Linked DNA regions of Homo sapiens: region 2 is linked to region 1. Evidence: promoter capture Hi-C in 16 types of primary human blood cells and fetal thymus (Javierre and others, 2016). All regions are on one chromosome and are shown on one strand. The core of a region is centred on a gene start or on the middle of the fragment in contact, and the rest is flanking DNA. Distances in the headings are between cores, read along the strand shown. Region 1 holds the start of FANCD2 (FA complementation group D2). Region 2 holds the start of CIDEC (cell death inducing DFFA like effector c).

The links. The method cuts DNA at HindIII sites, captures the fragments that hold promoters and counts their contacts. A CHiCAGO score of 5 or more calls a contact.
Region 2: a contact is called between the fragment with the promoter of CIDEC here and the fragment with the promoter of FANCD2 in region 1, in 1 of 17 cell types (megakaryocytes). The highest score is 5.2, in megakaryocytes.

What each region holds. Positions count from the first base shown.
Region 1 is chr3:10,024,043-10,028,518 of GRCh38, reverse strand. FANCD2 (FA complementation group D2) reads right to left here and starts at 2,082. Exons shown (of 44, transcript NM_001018115.3): 1 at 2,046-2,082. It also overlaps the pseudogene CIDECP1. RefSeq lists enhancers at 1,349-1,983, 1,984-2,619, 3,255-3,891. The HindIII fragment of the contact is 7,543 bases long and covers 1-3,898 here.
Region 2 is chr3:9,878,022-9,882,497 of GRCh38, reverse strand. It overlaps CIDEC (cell death inducing DFFA like effector c), which reads left to right and starts at 2,245. Exons shown (of 7, transcript NM_001321142.2): 1 at 2,245-2,274; 2 at 3,444-3,556; 3 at 3,987-4,064. The coding sequence starts at 4,012. The HindIII fragment of the contact is 5,760 bases long and covers 2,088-4,476 here.

The DNA.
Region 1 (4,476 bases), core at 833-3,332:
ATCTCCATATTAATGCTACCTAAACCTAGGTGCTAAGCAAATTTCAACTCTTACATCTAGCCAATACTACCTTCCTTTCAAGTCTTAGTTACCTCTTTAGGCAGACTACTTCGCTGTTGCTGAAGGATAAAACCCATCACTCTCCATCTGAGATTCAAGACCCTCCATTATCTATCCCCAACGTACCTGTCCTTTAATTCATGATTTCAATACTATATGTTAGGGACTGTGCTAGGTGCTGGGGTTACAACTGTGAACTAGACAGACATGATCCCTGTCCTCAGGGAATTTACAGTATGGTAACAAATAGCCTTAATGTACTGAACTACAGTTATGTAAGTGCTATAAAAGTACAGGTTCTATGAGGGCTTACTAGGAAATTTAGTCTAGTTGCTAGTAAGGGTGGTAAAGAGAAGCAAGGACCATTTCTTAGGGACAATCTCCTTGAATTTTTTTTTTTTTTTTTTTAGTAGAGACAGGGTTTCACCATGTCGGCTAGGCTGGTCTCAAACTCCTGACCTCAAGTGATCCACCCACCTCGGCCTCCCAAAGTGCTGGGATTACAGGTGTGAGCCGCCCGGCCTAAAGAAGTGATTTTTTTTTTTTTTTTTTTTGAGACGGAGTCTCACTCTGTCACCCAGGCTGGAGTGCAGTGGTGCAGCCTCGGCTCACTGCAAGCTCCACCTCCCGGGTTCACACCATTCTCCTGCCTCAGCTTCCCAAGTAGCTGGGACTACAGGCGCCCGCCACCACGCCCGGCTAATTTTTTGTATTTTTAGTAGAGACGGGGTTTCACCGTGTTACCCAGGATAGTCTTGATCTCATAACCTCATAATCCGCCCGCCTCGGACTCCCAAAGTGCTGGGATTACAGGCGTGAGCCAACCGCGCCCGGCCTGAAGAAGTGATTTTTAGGCAGGGACTTGAGGGCTGAAACAGCAGTTAGCCAGTAGAAGGGGTAGGAGAAGAGGAGTCCAGGCAAATAGATACTCATACTGAAACAAGGAGATGTGGAGTTAGAAATCAGACAGCAGAGGTGGGGGAAGTGCCTGAATCACATGACCTTTTAATCTTGTAAATCAGAACCTTCGTGGTCTCAGTGCCTTTGCACAAAGGTGTTCTTTTCATCTGAAGTGCTCTTATTTGCCTGGAAATTCCTACTCAGATCTAAACATTCAATCGAATGTCATCTTCCTTGAAAAGTGTTCCTCCTATCCCTAAGGGAGTTTGCTACTGCAGCTTCCCTGCTCCACAGGGTATACCTAGGGGCCCTTACCTCACACTAGACTGGGGCTCTTTGAGAGCAGGAACCCAGTCTCACTTACTCAATGTCCCTAATGCCCAGCATAGTTACCGGCATAAGGAAAATTTCTGAGAATATTCAGAGTGAAAAAAGCTCGCAGTGCAGGGGAAATGCTAAAAGCTAACAAGAACTGTTTCAAGTGCTTTATATTTAATAATTCATTTATTTCCCACAAAACTTTTTGAGGTGGGTACCATTATTCTCATCATCACGGGCAGAACTGGGATTCTAACTCGGAGTCTGGCTTCAGCACCTGCGCTCTTCACCACCTATACTTACTCTTGATGATTATAATGACTTCTAATAATGGTTAACATTTACGAGGTACCGGGCCCTGTGCTAAACTTTTTATTTATCGCCGCTTCGGTTAATACGGATAACCATTATCAGCCATCTTGCAGATGGAAAAACTAAGTCTTGTCAGCACGTCCGGCTTCCAGGCACCCGCCTTTAACACGTGCGATACCATCTGGCTTCCAGAAAAGCCCAACAGAAGTGAGATGAGGCCGACTGCCTGGATTAGTTCATCGGGAAGCGGGTGAGGGTAAAAGCCTTTCTCGTTTCCGCATTTTAATGACGCAGAAAGGTACCTGTGGGGATTATCCCATCTCAGGGCAGATGAGGAAGCCAAGGTTCGGGGCGCGGAGCCCCAGAGGAGAACGCCGACCGCGGCCCGGACTTAGAGATTAGGCCGCAGGGGAGCGGGGCCTCGAGAGACTACGACCATTGCTCCACTTACTCACCGAGAAGCCGTCGCCGCCCGTAGTTTTCGACTTTCCCGCCAGGCCCGACGCCGCTCTGACGCCACCGAGGCGCGCCATGACGTGACGCCAACTTCCGCGCCGGAAGTGGAAGGCCGGGCAGCCCAGCTGAAGGCAATAAGCTGGGCTCACCGCTGCAGCAGAGTTCTGTGCTAGCCGGGCATAGGGGCGAGAGAAGGCCCAGAGGCGACGTCAGAGAGAAGCAACTGCGCCCCGGTGAAGAGAAGCTCGCCCATCACCGGCTGGGAGCCAGCTTTCAGTGAAGATGGCAGGGCCAGAACTGTTGCTTGACTCCAACATCTGCCTCTGGGTGGTCCTACCCATCGTTATCACTCTTCGTAGACATGATCCGCCACTACGTGTCCATCCTGCTGGAGAGCGACAAGAAGCTCACCCAGGAACAAGTATCTGACAGGTCAGCGCCCTCCCTTCCCCAGCCTACCTCACACCGCCGTGACCTTGGACAAGAAAGTGCAGGCGTTGTGTCAGTTTGCCTAGGTTCACGTCTCGCCCCCACTGGCAAGGTGACCTTACCCGTTACCTCTGTGTTTCACTTTTGTCCTCTGTGAAATGGGGATAATAACAGTACCTCCCTCATAGACAGGTGGGAATCAAATTAGATGATGTCTGTAAATCCCTTAGCACAGGATCTAGGACGTATTGAGTGTTAAAAACAAAAAACAAAAACGGTGCTGTTAATCCTTTAGGTTAGTCGCCAACCCTCGGTGGGTTTACCTATGAACTATCCCATCCCACCCTTTCGTTGGGAAGAGTGCCTGGTGCTTTATAGCTTTTAGTATTTGTAACATCCAGTCAAGTGAGTGTGATAATCTGCATTCTACCAAATTACTGTTCCAATGGTTAGCTGAGATGCTAAGCACCAAAGCGCTTTGCAATCTGTAACACTGCTGTTAGACATGTAAGGAATTGTAATTATCATTTCCCTTCCTAGGGTGGAGGCAACTTCCTCACATACTTCATTGCAGTATTTATTTATTTATTTAATTTAACTTAATTTAATTTTTGAGACGGAGTTTCGCTCTTGTTGCACTAGATTAAGTATCTATTATTTTTCCGTTTGCATATTTTATCACTTGAACAGAAACTCTGAGCGCAGGGTCATGACCTTGCCTTACTCTATACCCCATAGCATGCAGCAGAGTGCAAGGCACATGGTAGGCCATCAAAAAACTTGTTCACAGCCAGGCGTGGTGGCTCTCACCTGTAATCTCAATACTTTGGGAGGCTGAGGTGGGAGGATCGCTTGAGCCCTGGAGTTCAAGACCAGCCTGGGCAACACAATGAGACCACTGTCTCTACAAAAAAATTTAAACATTAGCCAGGTGCAGTGGTGTGTGCCTGTAGTCCCAGCTACTCGGGAGGCTGAGGTGTGAGGATCACTTGAGCCCGGGAGTTCGAGGCTGAAGTGAGCCATGATCGCACCACTGCGATTGCAGCCTCAATCACTGCAGCCTCGACCTTTTTGGTCCAGCCTGGGTGACAAAGCAAGACCCTGTCTCCAGAAAAACAAACGAAAAAACACTTGTTCAGTCTACGATAATTCAAGACTTTTCCAGGCAGTGTAATCAAAAGAAATTCATCTAGCTCTCCTATATTTACGCTGCTGAATAGTTTTGTAGAAATGGAGTTGAATATCATGACCCTGAGGTATTTTAAGACCCTAAATAAGCAATCTTAAATTATCCTGTATTTTCTAAACACTCAATATCTGTGTTATCTGAAGTTTGCAAATTCCGCAAGAAATTTTTAATTTTGTATTTTTATTTTTGTGAATATCTAAAAATAAGTCCTTGTACTGTTATAAAGATAAAGCTTTGTAATTTGTAACTGAAAGACATCTATTTATTTTTGGCAGAGACAGGGTCTCACTATGTTGCCCAGTTGGTCTCAAATTCCTGGGCTCAAGGGATCCTCCCATCTCAGCCTCCCAAAGTGCTGGGATTATAAGTGTGAGCCACTGTACCAGGCCTAAATGACATTGTCTTAGAATAAAACTTTAAACTCGGTACCTCTCAAACCAGAGTTCCATATTCTTAAGAATCTATGTCTTCTCCTTTCCAAAAAGTCAGTAGTATATTCTTCAAGTTCGAGAACCATTTTTTACACACATTCTATCCCCAAACCTAGTCTAATATATTTTATTCATGTATTTTTCAGCTTTGGTTTAATACCTGTCAGAATTTTTTTTTTTTTTTTTTTGAAACATTGTCTTGCTCTGTTGCCCAGGCTGAAGCTGGGGAATAAGGTCAGTGATGCTTCTGCCATCCCTATGGAGCCACAGAGCCAGTCTGGGAAGCCCCACTTCATAGCTCCTTGGCTGCCAGGGAAAGAACAAGTGGGCTGGACTCTATGAGGTGGAACTGGAGCCCAGGCCCTCTGTTGTGGAATCACT
Region 2 (4,476 bases), core at 996-3,495, 150 kb after region 1:
CTCCCCATTCCCCTCCCATCCCCTACTCCCAGCCCGAAGCAACCACTAACCCATTTTGTCTTTTTTTTTTTTTTTTTTTTTTTGGAGGCGGAGTCTCGCTCTGTCGCCCAAGGCTGGAGTGTAGTGGTGCGATCTCGGCTCACTGCAAGCTCCGCCTCCCGGGTTCACGCCATTCTCCTGCCTCAGCCTCCCGAGTAGCTGGGACTACAGGCGCCCGCCACCACGCCCGGCTAATTTTTTGTATTTTTAGTAGAGACCGGGTTTCACCGTGTTAGCCAGGATGGTCTCGATCTTCTGACCTCGTGATCCGCCCACCTCAGCCTCCCAAAGTGCTGAGATTACAGGCGTGAGCCACCGCGCCCGGCCCTACTTTGTCTTTATATAGATTTGCCTATTCTAGACATTTCATATAAGTGGAATCATACAATATGTATATGATTCCTGTGACTGGCTTTGTCTACTTTCTGTACTGTTTGCAAGGTTCCTCCATGTGGTAGTATGGATCCTTTTTGATAAATAATATGCCATGTATGGATAGGCACATTTAAAAAATCGATTTATAAATTGAACATTCATGTGTTTCTACCTTTTGGCTATTACGAATAATCCTATGGATATTCACATACAAGTTTTTGTGTAGACATATTTTTCATTTCTTTTGGATATGTATGTGTATATATATATGTGTGTGTGTATATATATACACATATATATGTAATTTTGTTTGGTTTTGGTTTTGTTTCTTTTCTTTTGTAAAGACAGGGTCTCCCTATGTTACTCAGGCTAAATTTTAATTCCTGGGCTCAAGTGATCCTCCTGCATCAGCCTCCTTCTGAGCAGCTGGGACAACAGGTGTGCTCTGTATGACACACATACACCACACGCACACACACAGAAGTGGAACTGCTGGGTCAGAGATCTTACACTCTTAACCACTCCACATTTCAGCTTGTCTTACTCTCTGCTATGATTTAATATGTACATTATCAAATTGAGAAAAAGACAAAAAAATTAAAAATAATAAAATAAAAATAAAAAATTATCAGTAATACTAATAATCACTTCGATCCATTGAGTGTTTATGTTTGCAAAGCCTTTATTTTTATTTATTTTTATTTTTTTGAGACAGAGTCTCACTCTGTCACCCAGGCTGGAGTGCAGTGGCGTGATCTCGGCTCACTGCAACCTCTGCCTCCCGGGTTCAAATGATTCTCCTGCCTCAGCCTCCTGAGTAGCTGGGATTTCAGGCACCCACCACCACGCACGGCTAATTTTTGTATATTTAGTAGAGATGGGGTTTTCGCCATATTGACCAAGCTGGTCTCGAACTCTTGACCTTGTGATCTGCCCACCTCGGCCTCCCAAAGTTCTGGGATTAGAGGTGTGAGCCACCGTGCCCGGACTTTTTTTTTTTTTTTTTTTTTTTTGAGACAGGGTCTCACTCTGTCACCCAGAATGGAGTGCAGTGGTGTGATCTAAGCTCACCGCAACCTCTGCCTCCCAGGCTCAAGCGATTCTCCTGCCTCAGCCTCCCAGATAGCTGGGATTACAGGCACACACCACCACGCCTGGCTCATTTTTCTATTTTTAGTAGAGACGGGGCTTCACCATGTTGGCCATGCTGGTCTCAAACTCCTGACCTCAAGTGATCCACCTGCCTCGGCCTCCCAAAGTGCTGGGATTACAGGCGTGAGCCACGGCACCCAGGCTACTTTTTTCTTTTTTCTTTTCTTTTCTTTTTTTTTTTTTTTTTCAGAGACAGGGTCTCACTCTATTGCCCAGGCTGTCCTCCAACCCCTGTCCTCAAGCAATCCTCCCGCCTCAGCCTCCCAAAACACTGGGATTATAGGCATGAGCCACTGTGCCCCTTTACTTTTATTGTCACTAATCCTCACCACTACCCTATAAAACAAGAATCATTATCGTCATTACACAGAGAAGAGAAACGGGCTCACAGAAGTCAAGTGATCTGTCTAAGCTCAAGCAAGCTGATATGGGGTGGAGTTGGGACCACAACCCACATCTGCCTGCTTTCTGTGCCCTCTGTGCTTGATCTCATGTCATGGGCCATCCATTTTGCCAAAGCTTTCGAAACATGCCTTCTCCCCTCCTTTTAGGCCTTTTCTGGAAGTCAGGCTGGCTTGCAGCTCTCACCCCAAGCTCTTTTCCCCAGCTGGGGCTGAAGGCTGGGGAGGAGCTTCATGGGGGCTGGAAATAAATGAAGGGAGGGCTGGGCGGGACAGGGCAGTATTTCCAGGAGGCTGTGAGGGGGAGGTAAGGAGTTTGTTATTGTTTTGGGTTTGGGGATTTTTTTTTCTTTGCTCCTGGAGAGCAGGTTAGGTAGCTCTTGGCAGAGTTTTGCTAGGGATACGAAGTGGGTGAGGCTGAGGCAAGCAGAATCCTCCTGCCTCAGCCTCCCACGTAGCTAGGACTAGAGCTTCTGCAGTGCTAAGTGGGAAAGGGGCTTTCTGCCTCTGTGGGGCCTGGTCTGGAAAGTCCCCCAAATTGTTAAAAGCAAAGAGTGATTGTCCCCAGCTGGCAAGGGGACTTTTGTTTTATGTCCACCCCTTGTGCCCCTTGCTCTGCGAAGCCCTACCTGTGCCGGGAGCTTCGAATAGGAAGAGGACCTCAGGGCCAGGCATCCAGGGACTGAGGGGCTACAGCAGAAACAGACCCAGAGGCACCCTTGGCTAGGAAGAGCAGGATGAAGGTGTAATAATTTTGGGAGTGGTCTAAGAAGACTTTCCTTTTAAAGAGTGGAAAGCAATGAAACTGAGGCTTCAAGGCTGCAAAAATTTCGTCCTGGATCAGAGAAGGGCACTACAGGTGGAGGGAACTATCTGTGCAAAGGGTTGGGCCCTTCAAGAGTTGGAGCACAGAGGTTTAGGAGAAAAAGTGGTGACAGATGAGCCCAGGGCTATCTGCTTAGACCTGTGATCTAATATGGGTGCCAACAGCCACATGGCAATGTGGCTATTTAAATTTAAATTAGTTAAAATTCAATAAAGTAAAAAATACAGCTCCTGTGCCAGGTGCAGTGGCTCACGCCTGTAATCCCCGCACTTTGGGAGGCCAAGACAGGGAGATCACCTGAGGTCAGGAGTTCAAGACCAGCCTAGCCAACATGGTGAAACCCAGTCTCTACTAAAAATCCAAACAAAACGAAACTAAACTAAAAATTAGCTGGGCGTGGTGGCAGGTGCCTGTAATCCCAGCTACGGGGGAGGCTGAGGCAGGATAATTGCTTGAACCCAGGAGGCGGAGGTTGTAGTGAGCAAGATCGCCCCATTGCACTCCAGCCTGGGTGACAAGAGCGAAACTCAAAAAAAAAAAAAATTCAGCTCCTGAATCACACTAGTTATGTTTCAAATACTCAATAGCCACATGGGGCTAGTAGCAATGGTATTGGAGAGTATGTACAAGGCATGCCTCTATCATCACAGAATGTTCTTTTGGCCACTGTGAAGCCTCAGGAAGGGGCTCGGATTGCTCAAGGACCCATGGGAGAGAGGAGGCTTTGACTGGGCTGCCTGCCTGTGAGGTCTCTGGACTAGAGGTGAGGGAACGGTCCCCAGAAGTGTGAGGTGGTGTGACTCACCTCCTGCCAGCGTAAAGTGGACTCTGTCCCCATGGACAGGAACAAATCGGGCAAGGCTTCTTCAGCCCTGAGTTGGGTTATCTGCTCAGTGTGACCAGAGCCAGGGGATGAGAAACATGGAGTGAGTGGGACTGGGGCAGGAGCAGCAGCTGCTGAGTGAGGCTGAGCCTGAGCACCCGGTGGGGAGAGGGGTGGGGTCTCCAGCTTGGTCTTGGTTGGCATGCATGGGGCCGGACAGGAGAAGGGCTGGGGGAGGTATGTGTGAGTTGGGATAGAAGAATAGGGAGGAAGGTTGCTGAACAGGGGTTGGGTTGCACCTTGCCTAACAATGAGAGAGATGGGAACCCTCTCATCTCACCCTGATGAATTGTTTCTGCCTCCTTCCCAGGTCCAACGCAGTCCAGCTGACAAGGATGGAATACGCCATGAAGTCCCTTAGCCTTCTCTACCCCAAGTCCCTCTCCAGGTGAGGAAAGTCATGGGCAGAATGGAAAGAGAGCCACCTATGAGCTGTAAGCCAGAACTTCTCAAACTTTAATGGGTATACAGGTCACAGGGGACCTTGTTCAAGTGCAGATTCTGATTCAGGAGGTCTGGAGTGGGACCCGAGATTTTGCACTGCCAAGAAGTCCCTGGGTGATATTAATGCTGCTGCTTACACCACCACCACACCATGCATAAAAAGGAGTAGACACTATGCTTGGTGCTTTTACTCCTGATCTCATGTAAGCCTCACAACAACTTTGGGAAGTGGGGGTTATTATACCAAATTAATAGGTGAGAGAACTGAGGCACATAGTGGGTGCTCTCAATCACCCAGCAAATCCATGAGGGAGCCAAGATTCTAAATTGGGACTGCCTGACTGTAAAATCCAGGT